Linked DNA regions of Homo sapiens: regions 2, 3 and 4 are each linked to region 1. Evidence: promoter capture Hi-C in human tissues and cell types (Jung and others, 2019). All regions are on one chromosome and are shown on one strand. Each heading gives the region's core, a stretch centred on a gene start or on the middle of the fragment in contact. The rest is flanking DNA. Distances are from core to core; before and after follow the strand shown. Region 1 holds the start of SPTBN2 (spectrin beta, non-erythrocytic 2). Region 2 overlaps KDM2A (lysine demethylase 2A). Region 3 overlaps SYT12 (synaptotagmin 12). Region 4 has its middle 14 kb from the start of C11orf86.

Evidence for each region. Contacts are between HindIII fragments. The study calls those that stand out against the background at their distance.
Region 2: a contact is called between a fragment that was not itself captured here and the fragment with the promoter of SPTBN2 in region 1, in 1 of the 25 tissues and cell types used here (adrenal gland).
Region 3: a fragment that was not itself captured here is called in contact with the fragment with the promoter of SPTBN2 in region 1 in 1 of the 25 tissues and cell types used here (thymus).
Region 4: a fragment that was not itself captured here is called in contact with the fragment with the promoter of SPTBN2 in region 1 in 1 of the 25 tissues and cell types used here (pancreas).

Annotation. Positions count from the first base shown.
Region 1 is chr11:66,727,952-66,730,489 of GRCh38, reverse strand. SPTBN2 (spectrin beta, non-erythrocytic 2) reads left to right here and starts at 1,274. Exons shown (of 38, transcript NM_006946.4): 1 at 1,274-1,749. The HindIII fragment of the contact is 42,487 bases long and covers 1-2,538 here.
Region 2 is chr11:67,187,842-67,190,379 of GRCh38, reverse strand. All of the region lies in intron 5 of KDM2A (lysine demethylase 2A), which reads right to left. Among named protein-coding and RNA genes, the nearest start is that of KDM2A, 70 kb to the right of the region's middle. The HindIII fragment of the contact is 3,563 bases long and covers 1-2,538 here.
Region 3 is chr11:67,040,123-67,042,660 of GRCh38, reverse strand. It overlaps SYT12 (synaptotagmin 12), which reads right to left. Exons shown (of 8, transcript NM_177963.4): 4 at 2,458-2,538. Among named protein-coding and RNA genes, the nearest start is that of MIR6860, 4.3 kb to the left of the region's middle. The HindIII fragment of the contact is 3,922 bases long and covers 1-2,538 here.
Region 4 is chr11:66,988,437-66,990,974 of GRCh38, reverse strand. No RefSeq gene overlaps it. Among named protein-coding and RNA genes, the nearest start is that of C11orf86, 14 kb to the right of the region's middle. The HindIII fragment of the contact is 4,619 bases long and covers 1-2,538 here.

The DNA of each region.
Region 1 (2,538 bases), core at 25-2,524:
TCCTGCCTCAGCCTCCTGAGTAGCTGGGATTTCATGCCCACCACCACGCCTGGCTAATTTGTGTATTTTTAGTAGAGAAGGGGTTTCACCATGTTGGCCAGGCTGGTCTTGAACTCCTGACCTCGCGATCCACCTGCCTCGGCCTCCCAAAGTGCTGGGATTACAAGGGTGAGCCACTGCGCCTGGCCATGGGCAGCTGATTCTCATCCCATCAGCTTTAATGTCCCTGACCAAGTGTCCCTGATGACCGTCATGCACAGGTTGGTGCCTCCTTCCCCCGAACCAACCAACACATAATCCTACCTCTGGGAAGAGTTGCAGTTTATGCCCTTGTTTCTTTAATGCCATTGCCTGAAAGAGTGGCTATTAAAAATAATAAATAGCCTCAGGCCTGGCACGGCAGCTCACGTCTGTAATCCCAGCACTTTGGGAGGCTGAGGCAGGCAGATCACCTGAGGTCAGGAGTTCAAGAACAGCCTGGCCAACATGGCAAAACTCTGACTCTACTAAAGATACAAAAATTAGTCGGGCATGGTGGCATGCACCTGTAATCCCAGCTACTCGGGAGGCTGAGGCAGGAAAATTGCTTGAACCCGGGAAGAGGAGGTTGCAGTGAGCCGAGATCAAGCCACTGTACTCCAGCCTGGGTGACAGAGCACGACTCCGTCTCAAAATAATAATAATAATAAATAGCCTCAAATGCAGCTAACTGTGAGGTACACACCAGAGAGCCAGTTCCAGTTTCGTGGTAGAAGCACAGATATCAGAGCTAGGAGAGAACTTCAAAGTAATCTTTCAATGGAACTCCCCAACCCTCCTCCCAACCCATTTTATAGACTAGGAAAACCAAGGCGAGGTAGATGACACCACTAGTTAGGGTTGTCAAAACCATATCTGGAAAGTACTTCAATTGCACATATTTGTTTCAGTATGCATACCTTTTCAGAAAGGAGCAAAATCCTAAATTACCCATAAATCTATTATAAAACCTTAAATCCAATAATTCACTCAAAGCCCATTCTTTGAGTGCCCTTACTTGACCATTTCAGGCATTCCCTGGATAGAAACGGGCCCTCATCTTCAGGGGCAGTACATAACCTAACGGCTCTGTACAAAGCTCACCCTGTTACCACTGGCTCATCTCTGAGCTGAGTTCTCTAATCTGGAAGAACAGCACCTACTTCTCAGAGCTGGAGTGGGGGTGGGAGTGTCACATGAGATGATGCGCTTTTAGCACCCACCTGGCACTCTGTGAGTTTGTCATGATTTGGGCATAATTCCTTCCTCTCCTAAGCAGGCAGCAGTTCACCTTGGTTAAGGACCTTGGACCTTAGACCACTCAGACGCTAACAAACCAAGGAGAAACCCAGCCGTGTCAGGCCTAGAAATGTCTGCCCCCACCCCCACCCCCCTCAAGACGGTGACTAGGCCGGAATTCTCCTGGTTGATAAATGAGAGGAGCTGAGAAGCGCTGAGATGCCTGTTTGGAGCATCTGATCTGTAGAAGACGAATCTTCACTGTGCCATGGAGATGTTCTGGGAGGGAGAGCCGGCCCAGCTGCCTGAAGGAGGACGCGAGAGCGAGGGGACGGGTGAGAGGAATGCTTAGCGGAGACGGACTGGAGGTGCCCGGAGAGGAAAGGGGAACGGAGGCTGGATCTCGGGAAACCTCGTCGGCAGTGTCATTAGAGGAAGGATCGCGTGTCTCGGGGATACGGATTTTGGAGGAAAAGCAGAATAGGGACAAAGGTGAGGTGTCCGAACCGGGGAGATCAAGACCTGTAAGCTGTGGTGGGGGACCCAGGGACCAGCGAGGACGGGAAGGCGGGGTTTTGGGGGGACCCCGCACGGAAGGTGGCTGGGGGTCGGCAGCCGGCCTCGGAGCTGCTGCCGCGTTCGCCCCGAGGCAGGTCAACTACCCCGGGCGGGGAGCGGCGGGGAGCACCGAGAGGGGCCTCGGTTGCCATGGCGCTGGGCGGGGAAGGGGCGACTCGGGCCCCGCCCAGAGCCCCGCGGGGCCGCCGGCTCCAGATGGTCCCGGGCCTCCCGCGGGAGCCGGCGGCCTGCGGCAGGGGGAGGCTATTGTCCTCCTTCCGCGGCGCCGCAGTCCCGCCGCTCGCGCCCGCGCGCCGCCGCCACGCGCCCCGCCGCCGCCCGCCCCGCGCGCCCCCCGCGCCGCCTGCGCCCCGTGACAGCGCCCGCCCGCCGCCCGCCGTGCGCCCGGCCGCTGCCTGCAACCGCCCGTCGCGGCCGGGCTGCAGGCGCGGCAACTACCGGTGCGCCCCCGCCCGCCGCGCCCCCGCCCGCCCGGCCGCGGCTCCGCGCCGAGGTAGGTGCCGGCGCCCCGCCCGCTTTGTCCCGGCCCGCGGGGCGGCGCGCTTTGTCCGGCCGCGTGCGGTCGGCGGGGTCGGGGTCGGGGTCGGGGTCGGGTCCCGGCGGCCGGGGTGAGCCGGGGCGGGAGCAGGCGGGGACGGGACGGAGAGGGTCCCGTGCCAGCCACACAGGTACCGGGATGAGGGCGGTGGGGGCCAAGGCCGA
Region 2 (2,538 bases), core at 29-2,528, 460 kb before region 1:
GGAGTGCAGTGGTGCAATCTTGGCTCGCTGCAACCTCTGCTTCCTAGGTTCAAGCCATTCTCCTGCCTCAGCCTCCTGAGTAGCTGGGATTACAGGCATGTACCACCACATCCAGCTAATTTATGTATTTTTAGTAGAGACAGGGTTTCATCACATTGGCCAGGCTAGTCTCGAACTCCTCACCTCAGGTGATCCACCCGCCTCGGCCTCCCAAAGTGCTGGGATTATAGGTGTCAGCCACCGCGCTCGGCCCTCACTTTCACTTCTGATTTTAGTAATTCGATCTTTCTTTCCTTAGTCCATCTGGCTAAATAAAGCTTTGTCAATTTTGTTTATCTTTTCAAAGAAGAACCACCTTTTGGTTTCTTTGACTTTTCTCTATTGTTTTTCTATTCTTTATTTCATTTATCTCTAATCTTTATTACTTCCTTTAGCTTTAGGTTTAGTTTGTCCTTTTTCTAGTTATTTAAGTTGTAAGGTTAGGTTGTTGATTTTAAGTTTCTCTTCTTTTGTTAAAGAGACTGGTGTTTGTTTGTTTTTTGACACAGAGTCTCACTTTGTTGCCCCGGCTGGAGTGCAATGTGCGATCTTGGCTCACTGCAACCTCCGCTTCCCAGGTTCAAGTGATTCTCCTGCCTCAGCCTCCCGAGTAGCTGGGACTACAGGTGTCCACCATCATGCCTGGCTAATGTTTGTATTTTTAGTAGAGATGGGGTTTCGCCATGTTGACCAGGCTGGTCTCGAACTCCTGACCTCAGGTGATCCACCGGCCTCAGCCTGCCAAAGTGCTAGGATTACAGGCGTGAGCCACCTCGCCCGGCCGAGATAAGGTCTTGCTATGTTGCCCAAGCTGGCCTCAAAATCCTGGGCTCAAGCAATCCTCCTGCCTCAGTCTCCCAAGTAGCTGGAACTATAGGCACATGCTACTGCAATCAGTGATTCCGTGTTTTATAATCAAAGCATTTATAGCTACAAATTTCTCCTTTAATGTTGCTTTCACTGATCCCTATAAGTTTTGGTAGGCTGTGTTGTGTTCATTCATCTATAAGTATTTTCTAATTTCCATGTGATTTCTTCTTTGATTCACTGATTGTTAAATTCCACAATTTTGTGACCTTTCCAGTTTTACCTGTTATTGATTTTTAACTTCATCCCATTGTGGTTGGAGAAGATACTTTGATATCTATTTTTTAAATCCACTGATATTTAATCTGTAGCCTAACATATGGTGTATCCTGGAAAATGTCCTACATACACTTGAAAAGAATGTGTATGCTATTGCTGTTAGGTAGGATTCTGTCTGTGTCTGTGAGATCTAGTTGGTTTACTGTGTTAAGTCCACTATTTCCTTACTTATTTTCTGTCTGGTTGTTCTATCCATTATTGAGAGGGGGTACTGAAGTCTCCAGGTATTACTGTATAGAAATGTCTACTTCTCCCTTCAGTTCTGTCAGGTTTTCCTTTGGGTATACTGATGGTCTGTCGTTAGGTACATAAATGTTTGTAATTGTTATATCTTCTTGCTATAGTTAAACCTTTAATTAATATATGTCTTTGCCTCTTGAAACATTTTTTTTTTTTTTTTTTTTGAGACAGTGTCTTGCTCTGTCACCCAGGCTGGAGTGAAGTGGCACAATCTCAGGTCACTGCAGCTTTGACCTGCCAGGCTCAAGTGACACTCCCACCTCAGCTTCCTGAGTAGCTTAGACTACAGGCATGTGCCACCATGCTTGGATTATTTTTATTTTTTTGGTAGAGACGAGGTCTCACCACGTTACCCAGGGTAGTCTCAAACTCCTGGGCTTAAGCAATCTTCCCGCCTTGGCCTCCCAAAGTTGGGATTACAGACGTGTGAGGCACCATGCCCAACCATTTTTTCTTTCTTTTTTTTTTTTTTTGAGACAGAGTCTTGCTCTGTCGCCCAGGCTGGAGTGCAGTGGCGCGATCTCAGCTCAGTGCAAGCTCTACCTCCCGGGTTCACGCCATTCTCCTGCCTCAGCCTCCCGAGTCGCTGGGACTACAGGCGCCTGCCACCACACCCGGCTAATATTTTGTATTTTTAGTAGAGACGGGGTTTCACCGTGTTAGCCAGGATGGTCTCGATCTCCTGACCTTGTGATCTGCCTGCCTCGGCCTCCCAAGGCAAGTGCTGGGATTACAAGCGTGAGTCACTGCGCCCAGCCTCTTTCTTTCAAGACACAGGGTCTTGGCTCTGTCACCCAGGCTGGACTACAGTGGTGTGATCAGAACAGCCTCAAACTCCTGGGCTCAAGCCTTCCAAGTGGCTAGGAGCACAGGCATGCAACACCATGCCCAGCCAACTTTTAAAATTACTATTATTATTTTTTTTATAGACATGAGGTCTTGGTATGTTGCCCAGGCTGGTCTCTGAATTCCTGGCTTCAAGCAGTCCTGCCTCAGCCTCCCAAAGTGCTGGGATTTTAGGTGTGAGGCACCATACCAGGCCCCTCTTGGAACCATTCTTTGATTTAAGGTCTGTTTTAGGGCCCGGTGCCATGGCTCACGCCTATAATCCCC
Region 3 (2,538 bases), core at 25-2,524, 310 kb before region 1:
TGTCCCCTGCTCATGGGGGCCTGGGCTCCCCAACCAGCCATTCTCTGAGCGTGTGCTTTATGTGCACATGGGTGGAGGAGGATGGAACCCTGGGTTTGAGTCCTGGACCTCCTGCTTCCTTACTGGCGTTGTCTTGGGCAAAGCACTTTCCCGAGCCTCGGTTTCCTCATCTGTAAGATGCCCTAACAATCTGTCCTGTTGGCGTCAGGGGCTAATGAGAGAATCATGGATGCACTGGGCTCTGTGAACCAGGTTCTCAGCACACATCAGGCTGTGGCGGCTGCTGTCTGCCAATGTCTCTCCTCAAGGAATGCGTCCCCAAACCACAGGCAACATGGCTGGGCACGACAGGAGCTCTGCACGGTCCTGAGAGCCAACCTGCTAGGCACTGACCCAGGCTGGGCTAAGAACTTCACATACATTAACCCATCTCTTCCTCAATAACCATGATGCCCATTTGACAGATGGGGAAACGGAGTCATGGGGTACTAAACTGACTTAACCAAGATCATACTGCTAGGAAGAGGTGGAACAAGGATTTGAACCCAGGCAGTCAGGCTCCAGGGTCCTGCTCCTAATCGCCCACTATACTGCCTCTCAGAAGCTGGGCCACCCCAACTTGATGCCCTAAACACGCCCTCCTCGCACTCTGCTCACAGGCTATCCCCACCCTTCAGCCCAGATGTGGCTCTGTTGGCTTGGTTCTGTGAGTTACAGCGATGTGTGGAGGGTAGCCTAAGGGACTGGGCACCTTCCCTGCCCCTCACGCTTTATTCTCCACCCTTCCCCCCTCTGCTCTGGCCCTGAGAGTTGACCTCCATGGGCTGTGTCAACAGGTTCCCTTGGCCTTTGGCTTCTGGTTGGGTCAGCCAGTGGAGGTCACCAGAAGGAAACTGGAGGGGGAGGGAAGTCCCTCTCTGCAGTATTGTTGCGGGATGACCATGTCCCTTGGCCAAAGGGCAGAGCTTCCACCAAGGTAGCCCTCTCCACACAAGGTGGCCCTCTATCCTTTTGGGCCCAGTAACCTCACCTTCCCCTCACCCCTTCAGATCTAGAGTGGGACAGCCCCTCCTGTTACGCCCTTCCAGGGTACCATGCCATCCCTGAGGCTGCCCCACACCCCATCCGCACCACTCTAAATGGTCTTATTATTTTCATTTTTAAAATTTATTTATTTATTTATTATTTTTGAGACGGAGTCTCACTCTGTCGCCCAGGCTGGAGTGCAGTGGCATGATCTCGGCTCATTGCAACCTCCGCCTCCTGAGTTCATGCAATTCTCCTGCCTCAGCCACCTCAATAGCTGGGATTACAGGTGTGCACCACATGCCCTGCTAATTTTTGTATTTTTAGTAGAGACGGGGTTTCACCATATTGGCCAGGCTGGTCTCAAACATCTGACCTCAGGTGATCCACCTGCCTCAGCCTCCAAAGGGCTGGGATTACAGGTGTGAGCCACTGCACCTGGCCCTATTTTTATTTTTTGAGATAGGGTCTCATTCTGTCACCCAGGCTGGAGTGCAGTGGTGCAATCGTGGCTCATTGCAGCCTCAACCTCCTGGGCTCAAGTGATCCTCCCATCTCAGCCTCCCAAGTAGCTGGGACTATAAATTAGCTGGCACTACCACAGCCAGCTAATTTATTTTATTTTATTTTATTTTTTTTGGTAGAGAAGGAGTTTTGCCATGTTGCCTAGGCTGGCCTTGAACTCCTGGTTAGGCTCAAGCAATCCTCCCACCTTGGCCTCCCAAAGTGCTGGGATTACAGGCATGAATCACTGTACCTGGACAGTCCTGTTTTATTTTTATTTATTTATTTATTTTGAGACAGAGTCTCCCTCTGTCGCCCAGGCTGGAGTGCAGTGGCACGATCTCGGCTCACTGCAAGCTCTGCCTCCCAGGTTCACGCCATTCTCCTGCCTCAGCCTCCCGAGTAGCTGGGACTACAGGTGCCCGCCACCACGCCCGGCTAATTTTTTGTATTTTAGTAGAGATGGGGTTTCACCGTGTTAGGCAGGATGGTCTCGATCTCCTGACCTCATGATCTGCCCGCCTCGGCCTCCCAAAGTGCTGAGATTAGAGGCATGAGCCACCACAACCAGCCCCAGTCCTGTTATTAAGCCCTCCCCAAATTAGCCTTCTTAAGCATGTCATCCCTTTTCTGCCGGGACCCCATGTTGACACAGGGCAGATGTGGACAACGACAGTTGCCACATTCTGTATTCACCTGGTGGGACCGCTAAGAACTCCACACAATGGGAGCCTTCAGGTGGAGCCCCCCACCTCCCAGCTCTGTACAGAGCTCCCTCTACAGTCTGAAGCTTCAGCTCTGGGATCAGCATCCATACTTGCACTCTACTGCCTTTCTGGGATCCTGCCGGGCCCCACCGCCATGCCTGCCTGGGAGGCATCTAGTGAGCCCAGAGCACCCTTCTGCCCCGCCCTGAGCCCCACTTACCCGAGAAATGCCCACGATCTGCTCGTCCGGCAGCAGGCTGACGCGCATGAAGCAGGACTCGAAGCTGGCCTCCTCCCGCTC
Region 4 (2,538 bases), core at 17-2,516, 260 kb before region 1:
TCCTTCCATGAAGTTTCCTAAACTCTTTTGGATGCTGAAACCTCATTCAATAAGTCATTCATTCATTCAAGTCAGTTAACAACTTTTTTTTTTTTTTTGAGGTGGAGTCTCACTCTGTTGCCCAGGCTGGAGTGCAATGGCATGATCTCGGCTCACTGCAACCTCCACTTCCCAGGTTCAAGCGATTCTCTTGCCTCAGCCTCCCAAGTACCTGAGATTACAGGCATGCACCACCACAACTGGCTAATTTTTATATTTTTAGTAGAGACGGGGTTTCTCCATGTTGGTCAGACTGTTCTCAAACTCCCGACCTCAGGTGATCCGCCCACCTCAGCCTCTCAAAATGCTGGGATTATAGGTCTGAGCCACCATGCCCGGCCTCAGTTAACAGCTATTAAATGAGCATCTATTAAGCACCAGGTATTGGGAATACAGCAGGACACAAAACATATCAAATTCCTGTCTCATGGAGCTGACATTCTGGTGGGGGAGACGATAAGTAAATGTCAGCCAGAATAAACAGGTAAGGAACAGAGAGAAAGGATGGGTTGGGGAGAGCTGGGTTTGTTGTTGTTGTTGTTGGAGACTGAGTTGTTGGAGGCTGGAGTGCAGTGGCACAATCTTGGCTGACTGCAACCCCACCTCCCGGGTTCAAGCAATTCTCCTGCCTCAGCCTCCCGAGTAGCTAGGATTACAGGAGTGTGCCACCATGCCAGGCTAATTTTTGTATTTTTAGTAGAGATGGGGTTTTGCCATGTTGTGCAGGCTGGTCTCGAACTCCTGGCCTCAAGTGTTCCATCCACCTCAGACTCCAAGAGTGCTGGGATTGCATCTGGAATTGGTGGGTTCTTGGTCTCACTGACTTCAAGAATGAAGCCGCGGACCCTCGCAGTGAGTGTTACAGCTCTTAAGGTGGTGCTTCTGGAGTTTGTTCCTTCTGATGTTCAGATGTGTTCGGAGTTTCTTCCTTCTGGTGAGTTCGTGGTCTCGCTGGCTCAGGAGTGAAGCTACAGACCTTCGCGATGAGCTCCTAAGGCAGTGCCGCCTGGAGTTGTTCGTTCCTCCCGGTGGGCTCATGGTCTCGCTGGCTTCAGGAGTGAAGCTGTAGACCTTCGCGGTGAGTGTTACAGCTTATAAAAGCAGTGTGGACCCAAAGAGTGAGCAGTAGCAAGATTTATTGCAAAGAGCAAAAGAACAAAGCTTCCACAGTGCAGCAGGCGACCCTAGTGGGTTGCCACAGCCGGCTCCCGCAGCCTGCTTTTATTCTCTTATCTGGCCCCACCCACATCCTGCTGATTGGTAGAGCCCAGTGGTCTGTTTTGACAGGGCGCTGATTGGTGCCTTTACAATCCCTGAGCTAGATACAAAGGTTCTCCACGTCTCCATCAGATTAGTTAGATACAGTTTCGACACATAGGTTCTCCAAGGCTCCACCAGATCAGCTAGATAGAGTGTCAATTGGTGCATTCACAAACCTTGAGCTAAACACAGGGTGCTGATTGGTGTGTTTACAAACCTTGAGTTAGATACAGAGTGCCGATTGGTGTATTTACAATCCCTGAGCTAGACGTAAAGGTTCTCCAAGGCCCCGCCAGAGCAGTTAGATACAGAGTGTCCATTGGTGCACTCACAAACCTTGAGCTAAACACAGGGTGCTGATTGGTGTATTTACAATCCCTGAGCTAGACATAAAGACTCTCCACGTCCCCACCAGACTCAGGAGCCCAGCTGGCTTCACCTAGTGGATCCCGCACCGGGGCTGCAGGTGGAGCTGCCTGCCAGTCCCGCGCCGTGCGCTCGCATTCCTCAGCCCTTGGGTGGTCGATGGGACTGGGCGCCTTGGAGCAGGGGGTGGTGCTCGTCGGGGAGGCTGGGCCGCACAGGAGCCCACGGAGGGGGTGGCAGGCTCAGGCATGGCGGGCTGCAGGTCCCGAGCCCTGCCCCGCGGGAAGGCAGCTAAGGCTCGTGAGAAATCGAGCGCAGTGCCGGTGGGCTGGCACTGCTGGGGGACCCGGTACACCCTCCGCAGCCGCTGGCCCGGGTGCTAAGTCCCTCATTGCTCGGGGCCAGCAGGGCTGGCCGGCTGCTCCGAGTGGGGGGCCCGCCAAGCCCACGCCCACCCGGAACTCCAGCTGGCCCGCAAGAGCCCCGTTCCCGCTCGCGCCTCTCCCTCCACACCTCCCTGCAAGCTGAGGGAGTGGGCTCCAGCCTTGGCCAGCCCAGAAAGGGGCTCCCACAGTGCAGTGGTGGGCTGAAGGGCTCCTCAAATGCCGCCAAAGTGGGAGCCCAGGCAGAGGAGGTGCCGAGAGCAAGCGAGGGCTCTGAGGACTGCCAGCACGCTGTCACCTCTCAGGATTACAGGGATGAGCCACCTCGCTCAGCCAAGACCTGTTTTTGGTAGAGGTCAAGGAAGGCCTCTGTGATGAGGCAATTAATGAGCAGAGAGGCAAGGAAGTGAGGCAGGCATTTCGGGGAAGGTATTTCAGGTAGACGGAAGGGCAAGTGCAAAGGTCCTGAGGTGGGATGTGTGTTGGGTTC